Regions from separate parts of the Homo sapiens genome. Here region 1 is linked to region 2. Evidence: promoter capture Hi-C in human tissues and cell types (Jung and others, 2019). All regions are on one chromosome and are shown on one strand. The core of a region is centred on a gene start or on the middle of the fragment in contact, and the rest is flanking DNA. Distances in the headings are between cores, read along the strand shown.

The links. The method cuts DNA at HindIII sites, captures the fragments that hold promoters and counts their contacts. A contact is called where the count stands out against the background at its distance.
Region 1: a fragment that was not itself captured here is called in contact with the fragment with the promoter of CAMKK1 in region 2 in 2 of the 25 tissues and cell types used here (adrenal gland and lymphoblastoid cells).

Annotation. Positions count from the first base shown.
Region 1 is chr17:3,761,440-3,765,665 of GRCh38, reverse strand. It overlaps ITGAE (integrin subunit alpha E), which reads left to right. Exons shown (of 31, transcript NM_002208.5): 3 at 1,706-1,797; 4 at 3,684-3,751; 5 at 4,146-4,226. Among named protein-coding and RNA genes, the nearest start is that of ITGAE, 38 kb to the left of the region's middle. RefSeq lists an enhancer at 1,888-1,987. The HindIII fragment of the contact is 6,528 bases long and covers 1-4,226 here.
Region 2 is chr17:3,890,529-3,894,529 of GRCh38, reverse strand. CAMKK1 (calcium/calmodulin dependent protein kinase kinase 1) reads left to right here and starts at 1,477. Exons shown (of 16, transcript NM_032294.3): 1 at 1,477-1,591. RefSeq lists silencers at 1,031-1,570, 1,601-1,780, 1,921-2,170. The HindIII fragment of the contact is 23,333 bases long and covers 1-4,001 here.

The sequences.
Region 1 (4,226 bases), core at 562-3,061, 130 kb after region 2:
GGACAGAGAGCGGTCCGTTGGATGTGGCATTGTGGGGGCCCCTGGTGACCTTCACAGGAACTGACTCAGAGGGTGGGAAGTCAGCTTGGGGTGGGTTCAGTTGTGGGTGGGCGGATGGACGCACAGGTGCAGACTTTCTTATTATTCTGTAAGCCATGCCGATACGTGAATATATTTCATAATGTATTAAAATGTAGAGTGATAGGAGTTGAGGAAGTGGAGACGGTATCTCATTTCTGCCCCACCTTCCTGTGCTCTTTAGTCTGTCCCAACCCACTGTAGCCACATCATGACCTTTTTTTTTTTTTTTTTTTTTTGAGACAGAGTCTCGCTCTGTCACCCAGGCTGGAGTTCAGTGGCGTGATCTCGGCTCACTGCAACCTCTGCCTCCTGGGTTCACACCATTCTCCTGCCTCAGGCTCCCGAGTAGCTGGGACTACAGGCACCCGCCACCACGCCCGGCTAATTTTTTGTATTTTTAGTAGAGACGGGGTTTCACCATGTTAGCCAGGATGGTCTCGATCTCCTGACCTCGTGATCTGCCTGCCTCGGCCTCCCAAAGTGCTGGGATTACAGGCGTGAGCCACCGCGCCCGGCCTCATCATGAGCTTTTGAAAGCACAGCTAATCATGTGCTTCCCCTTTATAAAGTCCTCCATGACTTCTACTGCCCTCTGCAGAAAGACCTTGGACTTGGTTCACTGTTAACCACCAAGCCCCTCGTCCCCTCCCCACCATCCCCTATGACAACCCCCGGAGCTCACTGTCTGTCTCAGGACAGCCCAGTTCTCCTGGGTAACGTGGATGGTGAGAATGTTGAGGCTGTCCCTGGAATCTGCCGTCTCCCTGGACTGGGCCTGGGTGGGGGCAAGAAGTTTGCAGTCAGGAGGCGCAGCTCTTGAGGCTGCCTTAATCAGGCTGAGGCAGCCACCCCCAAACCTCCAGTTCTTTTATTTATTTATTTATTTATGAGACGAAGTCACACTCTGTCCCCCAGGCTGGAGTGCAGTGGCGTGATCTCCGCTCACTGCAACCTCTGCCTCCCAGGTTCAAGCAATTCTCCTGCCTCAGCCTCCTGAGTAGCTGGGACTACAGGCACACGCCACCATGCCCGGCTAATTTTTGTATTTTTAGTAGACACGGGGTTTCACCATATTGATCAGGCTGGTCTCAAAGTCCTGACCCCAGATGATCCACCTGCCTCAGCCTCCCAAAGTGCTGGGATTACAGGCGTGAGCCGCCGCGCCCGGCCTCCAAACCTCCAGTTCTGACTGACCCACAGGATAGGGGCACCAGCGTACTCTTCTCAGGAACTAAGGCCAGGCAGGGCAGGCCCCCTGGGTGGCCCACGAGGAAGCCAGCACTGCCCCCAACAGAACCAACCCCAACGCTGGTGGTTTTCTGGCCTCCCCATCCCTGTCCCCATAAGAGAGCAGAGTTTTTATTAACCATCAGTATCACCCCTTCTTTGTCAGGGTGGGCAGCAGGCAGAGAGGGGTTGCATTTAACCATTTCCTGCCTGGTGCTGTGTAGAAGCAGAGGTTGGGCAAATGTCTTCCCCATAATCCAGAGTCTGGGCTAGGAATCTGCCGGCCAGACAGGGAGCTTGTGAGTGCAGGCAACTGGAATGGGAAGGGTGCTGGGCAGGCAGGGAGAAGACGAGGAACATCAGCCAGCTCAGCTTTGCAACCTCCCCTCCCACTCAGGCTCCTGGTCACCAGCCCCAGAACCAAGAGGACACCAGGGCCCCTCCATCGATGTTCCCTTGTCCAGGATGAAATCCTTTGCCATCCTGTAGGTAAGTCAGCCCCAACTCCAGGGAATGCTCCCCAGGACCCCCTTTCTAGCAAAATCCCCCTCATCTAAACTCAAACCATTCCAACCCCAGCCCTGCCTCATCCAGCCCGTTCACCCCTAGACTCCAGCATAACCCACAGCAAGATTCCATCCCAATGCCCAGTCCCACCCCAACCCAATCCTAATCCCCAGCCACCTTTCCTGACACAGTCCTAGCAACAGAAATGATACCTACAGCGTATTGCGTGCCCACCCTGTGCCCGGCAGTCCTCTGAGTCATTCTGTTTTCATCCTCAAAACCGCGCCATTTATAAGAGAGGAAGCTACAGTTCAGAGAATGTAGGTCTTTTGGTTGCCAGTATGACAAAGTTCACACTTTTAGTGTTGGTGGCTGATTCGAAACTCTAGCCCTTCCTGATGCAAGTCATCACACCTCAGTGCAATTCACCCCCTACATATTCAGTCTAACTGTGGCCACCCTAGTAACTAGCATGGGGCCTGACATATATTAGGTACTCAATAAATGCCATTTGAATGAATGAATGAATGAATGAATGAATGAACCTGATTCACTCATTAAACTCTATCCATCCTACCCAGTCAAACTCAGGTCACAGATTTACTGACAACCTCTTGGCTATATATATATAAATAAATAGAATCCTTGTCTTGTCTGAGGCTGGGCGCCGTGGCTCACGCCTGTAATCTTAGCACACTGGGAGGCCAAGGCGGGTAGATCATTTGAGGTCCAGAGTTCGAGACCAGCCTGGCCAATATGATGAAACCCCATCTCTACCAAAAATACAAAAATCAGCCAGGCGTGGTGGTGCATGCCTACAATCCCAGCTATTTGGGAGGCTGAGGCAGAAGAATCGCTTGAACCCAGGAGGTGGAGGTTACAGTGAGCTGACATTGCACCACTGGACTCCAGCCTGGGCAACAGAGCAAGACTGTTTAAAAAAAAAAAATCCTGCCAGGCACGGTGGCTCATGCCTGTAATCCCAACACTTTGGGAGGCTGAGGTGGGCCGATCATGGGTCAGGAGATCGAGACCATCCTAGCTAACACGGTGAAATCCCGTCTCTACTAAAAATACAAAAAGAAATTAGCCAGGTGTGGTGACGGGCACACGTAGTCCCAGCTACTCAGGAGGCTGAGGCAGGAGAATGGCGTGAACCTGGGAGGCGGAGCTTGCAGTGAGCCGAGATTGCGCCACTGCACTCCAGCCTGGGCGACAGAGCAAGACTCTGTCTCAAAAAAAAAAAAAAAAAAAAAAAAAATCCTTGTCTGAGAGGCACTGAGTTGAACAGACTCAATCTCAGTCCAGCAGGGTTGACTGAGTGATTCCATGACTGAAAAATAAGACAGTATCCTGAGGCTGACAGTGGGGAGGACGAGGAAGGAGCTACCATTTCTGCCCCTGAGGCTGGGGGCAGTAAGATTCCCCAGGATGGGTCTGTGAGGCTGGGGGGTTCCTTGGTCCACACAGCCAGTCCCACGGTATCTTGCACATTCCTTGGCACTTACATACCCACCAGGCAGTGCTTCTCCACCCACCTGCCCGACCAAACCCACTGAGGAAAAGCAGCAGGCATCCGCTGTTGCTGGACGCCCATCACCACGCTCACAAGGCTGGGCACAGAGCAGACGTCAATGGGCACGTGTTGAAAGGGTCAGCAAATGAGCCCCGGGGATGGGCACTCGGCCCTGAACGTGTCCAGTCCTGACCTTGAAGGCCCCCGCTCTAGCTTTCTAGAGGCTTCTCTGAGTGGCCAACAGTTCCTCATGGGGGCCTGACCAAGGTGGCTCTGTGCCCTCTGACCTTGGCTTCGGGTCTCTGCCTCCCAGAGTCCCCTCCTCCTCCTCACCTGGGCTTAACTTTTTCAGAGCATGTCCCCATCCCCAAGGGGAGGCACCGGGGAGTGACCGTTGTCCGGAGCCACCACGGTGTTTTGGTGAGTGCAGGAGCGAGAGGAGGGAGGGCCTTAGGGAGGCTGGTGCTAGCCCTCGTGGTTGACCCTGGTGTTGAGACCAGTTCTGACTGCCATGCTGTTCCCGAGGCTGAGTCTAGCGTCTCCCTGGTGCCAACCCCAGGGCTGACTGTAGCTCTGACCACCCTGATACCAGGGCTGACCTAGGTATTCCCTGTGACCCAGCACACTCCTGCAGGTGTCGGCCTCGGCCTTGATGCCAACACTGACTCCTACACCCGGTGAGGGGTGGGCCAGCTCTTCCTGTGCCCCCTGCCTGGTTGAGCCACTGAGTTCTGGAATGGGGGTGAGAATGTGGCTGTGGCTCGGGAATCGGGAGGTGACCTGGTGTTTCCCCACCCTCTCTTCCCTCCCACAGATATGCATTCAAGTGCTGGTCCGGCGGCCTCACAGCCTCAGCTCAGAACTCACAGGCACCTGTAGCCTCCTGGGCCCTGAC
Region 2 (4,001 bases), core at 228-2,727:
GCGGTGTATGTGAAAGTGCCACGTGGCAACTTCTGGGAACTTTCCTGAAAAGAGAGCTGGTGCAGACCCTCTGCCCTCTTCTTCATCCTTTTCTCCACTCCACTGCCTGGAATGCGTTATGTGATTGCTGGAGCTCTAGCTGGTATCCTGAACCATGAGGTCAAAAGCCACACTCAAGTTGCTGGAATTATTCATTCAACAACATCCACTGAGCACCTGTGCCATGCGACAGGCTGTGTGCTGGACGAATCAGGCACAGTGCTTGCCATCCAGGAGCTCCCAGTCCCAATGAGGAACCAGCAGGTAAACAGATGCCAGGTACAAGGAAGTACCTGGGTGGGGCCACTAACCCATGCTGGAAGTGGGGAGGTCATGGAGAAGGTTTCCAGGCAGAAGTAGGATTGAATTGAACCCTGAAAGACGAGTAGGCGTTAAACAGGCAGGTGGCTGGGAGTAAGGCTATACAGGGCTTGATTAGACCTATTCTCACGGTGAGCCATAGAAAATGCCTCTCGGTGGACTTGTGTTCCTGAAAACTTGCTCTGGGTGCCAGGGAGAGAAAGGCTAGTAGGAGGTGAGACTGGATGGGGCTGGAGGCCAGGGAGGAGGCTGCTGCAGCAATCAGGGACAAGATGGTGGTAGCCTGAGCTAAGGGAGGGGAAGTGGGGTGGAGAGGAGTGGGCCGATTCCAGGGATAGTTAAGAGGCAGTATGGCAGGGCCTGGAGATGGACTGGTTGGAGCAGGAAACAGGGAGGCAGCAGGTGACTCCCAGGCTCCTGGCTCCACTTCGAGACAGGGACGCAGGAGGTTAGATTTGGGGGAAGGATATGGGGCAAGTGGTGGTGCCAGAGGATTCACACGCGGAGGCGTTAGGGGAAGAGGTGGCGGCAGAGTCCCCAGGAACAGCCACAGCGAAGGTCACCTCACTGTCCTGCTGAGTTCCCTCTACTCCCTCGGCCCTCGCTAGGCCATTCCTGTCGCCGGCTCACCGAGCAAGCACTTCACTCTGTGCTAAGCCACCTCTCGGCCTCTCTGCCCCCGCCCCGCAGAAGCTACACTCCTGGGCCTGCCATTCAAGGCCTTCCTCCCCGGGCCTCGCCCCTCCCTCGCACGCACCGCGCCTCGCCCGGGAGGGAGGGGCGCTCTGGCTCCTGCAGGCCGGGATGGGGGCGCAAAGGGTTTGGCGGGGAAGCACGGTCCCCTGCAGGCCCAGGAGAAGGGCCCACGCCGCGGCCGGGAGGGACTTCGGGGACCCCAGGACGCCGGGGGCGTGGCGAGGTCGGCCCCGCCGCAGGGGAGGGAGGGCCCCTACCGCGCCGCCCACCGCGGTCCCTTAGTCCAGGAGGGGGCGGGAGTCCCGGGCTCCGATTGGGCGGCGCTGGCGGGGCCGTTCGCTCCGACCAATGAGCGCCGGCCGGGCGCGGCGGTGGGCGGGGCAGCGAGCGCTGCCCGGAGCCGCGGCGCCCGCGGGCTGAGCTCGGCGATCTGGGCCCCAGCGAGGCGGTGGGGCGGGGCGGGGCGGGGCGGGGCGCGCAGCAGGAGCGAGTGGGGCCGCCCGCCGGGCCGCGGACACTGTCGCCCGGCGCCCAGGTAGGGATCGGCGGGGCGGGGACGCGGGCGAGGAGCAGGAGGACGAACGCCTTAACACCTGCCCCGAGCCTGCAAGGGAGAGGCGGGGGGGGTCTGCCAGGCCGCGTCTACGAGGGAGCTGGGATCTGGTCAGGGCGGGGATCCTTCCCCTTCTGTCTGCGGGGCCGGGTCTGCGGGGTGCCTCGCGGAGTCTGCTCGGGTCTGCGCCGGCCGCCGGGACCGCATCGCCGCGGGTGCCCCGCCGTCTGCGTTCTTCCCCGCTTCTGTCTGCGGACCGCATCCATCCCCGGTGCACTGTCCCCCGCGCCCGGCTCCTGGTGGAGGCCACGTCTGTGCGGAGTGGGCCCGGCCCGGGGCACCCACGTGCGGTTCTCCGCGGAGCGCTCCTCCCACGGCCCGCCGGAGCGTCTTCCTGCAGGAGCCGGGGGCGGGGTGGGAGATGAATGGGGCGGCGGCGGCGCGCGGCTCAGGCTGCGCAGGGTCCTGCCTTGGCTGGGGCGAGAGGGGGCGGCAGAGGCGGGCGCTGCGGCTTCGGGGCCCGGGAGGCGCAGGGCTGGTGGCTGGGGGGGTGTCCACGTGCGCAGGGACCTGCGTGTGCTGTTTGGAGGCGGGTGTGCGTGTGTCACGTGGACGCGGGAGTGTGCCTGTGTCTGCGTGGGGGGTGCAGGACAGGATGGAGTGGTGTGTGAGGGCGGGTCACGCGGACACGGGCGTGTGCCTGTCAGGGGAGGGGGTGTGCTCAAGTCTTGGCGTTGCAGGGCTGTGCAGAGAAGGCTGTGTCACAGGCCACAGGACCGGGCCTTGGTGGTGTCCGCAGGGCGGGCACAGGAGTGTGGGAGGGGCACACAGCCTGTGCGCGCTGGAGGATCCCAGGGAAGTGGCGCTGGCCTCCCCAAGCCCTGCCCTCTTTCCTCCAGTACATACAAATTGACCCCCCACTGCGTCCCAGGCGCACACACTCTGGGGACCCTTCGCCTCTTCCTCGGTCTCCCACCGTCAGTCCTCACAGCAGCCATGGGAGTCGTTTTAAACCTCACCTAACCGAGGCACTCCCCTGCTCACAACCTCCCCCTGGCTTTGGGGGCCTCCTGGGCTCTGTCCACCAAGCTCTCCCCACCCCCAAACCAAGCCCGGAGTCCCAGCCAGGAAATGACTCTCCTATATGCACAGTGCAAACTTCCATCCTCGCCTCATCCTGAAATCCTGCTCAGTGCTCAGAAGAGAGCTCAGGTGCCACCTCCTCTAGGAAGCCATCCCTGAGGCCAGCACAATGAGTGAGGGGGCTTTCTCTCCAGATGTAACTCCTCTTGCTATCAGGTGCCTCTTATGTGGGGAAGACTCCACTCCAGCCACGTCAGCCTCCCTGCTGTTCTTCATACTGAGCAAGCACTGTCCCCTCATGGCGTTTGCACCTGCTGGTCCCTGCACCTGAAATGCTCTTCCCCAGATAACTACACTGCCTACTGCCCCTTCCTTCCTTCAGGTGTCTGCTCCAGTCCTGCTCCCAAAAGGCCTTCCTCAACTACACTGTATCAGCAGCATCTCCCAGCCCCTTTCTCTTGATCCTTCTTACTCGGCTGTATTTTTCTTCCTATATGTACCACTTGACATATCATATCTGAATCACTGGCTTTCTTGTTTGTTGCTTCTTGCCCCCACGAGAAATTAAACTGTATGAGAGCAGAGACTTGGTCTTTTTGGTTCACTGCTGTATCTCCCCACACAGGCTTGCACAGAGTCTGGCAGACAGCAGGTGCTCCGTGACTATTTGTGCTTGCATCCCAGGCGTCCATGTCCCTGGCTGCTCCCTAGCCTGTGACCCCCCCCCCAACCTTGCCCCCAGTCTGAGGCCACTTCTGCTCCTCTATCCATGACATTCCGAGTTCCTGGAAGGCCAGGTCTGGGAGAACTATAACCACATTTGCATGTTGGAAATCCCTCCAGCAGCTGGTGTGGAGGATGGGGTAGGGTGGGGTGGAGGTGTTAGCCTGGAGTCAGGGAAGACCCACATAGTGGGAAACGAAGCAGTGGGTAGAATCTGGACTTCTAAGGGGTTTGACTTGGTGAGCTCACCCAGCAGGTAGTGGGGAGATCAAGGAGGGCTCAGAAGAGGCGATGTCTGAGCTGTCCTCCAGGCAGCAGAGGAGAGGGAGGTGTGTTCCTGGCAGAAGGCACAGCTTGTACTGAGGCCTGGCAGCAGAACAGAGTATGCAATTTGGGAAGCTGTGGTGTGGCTGCAGTGGAGAGTAAGTGTGGGGTTGTGGGGAGCAAGGGTGGGCAACAGGGAAAGGACGAGTGACAAGGAGGGCTCCCGGATTGCTGACCTGGGTCAGGAAAGAATGGGGAGGGTGTGGTACCCGTCTCGCAATGGAGACAGAGGAGGACGAGCAGGTTTGGGGAAGATGCTGAG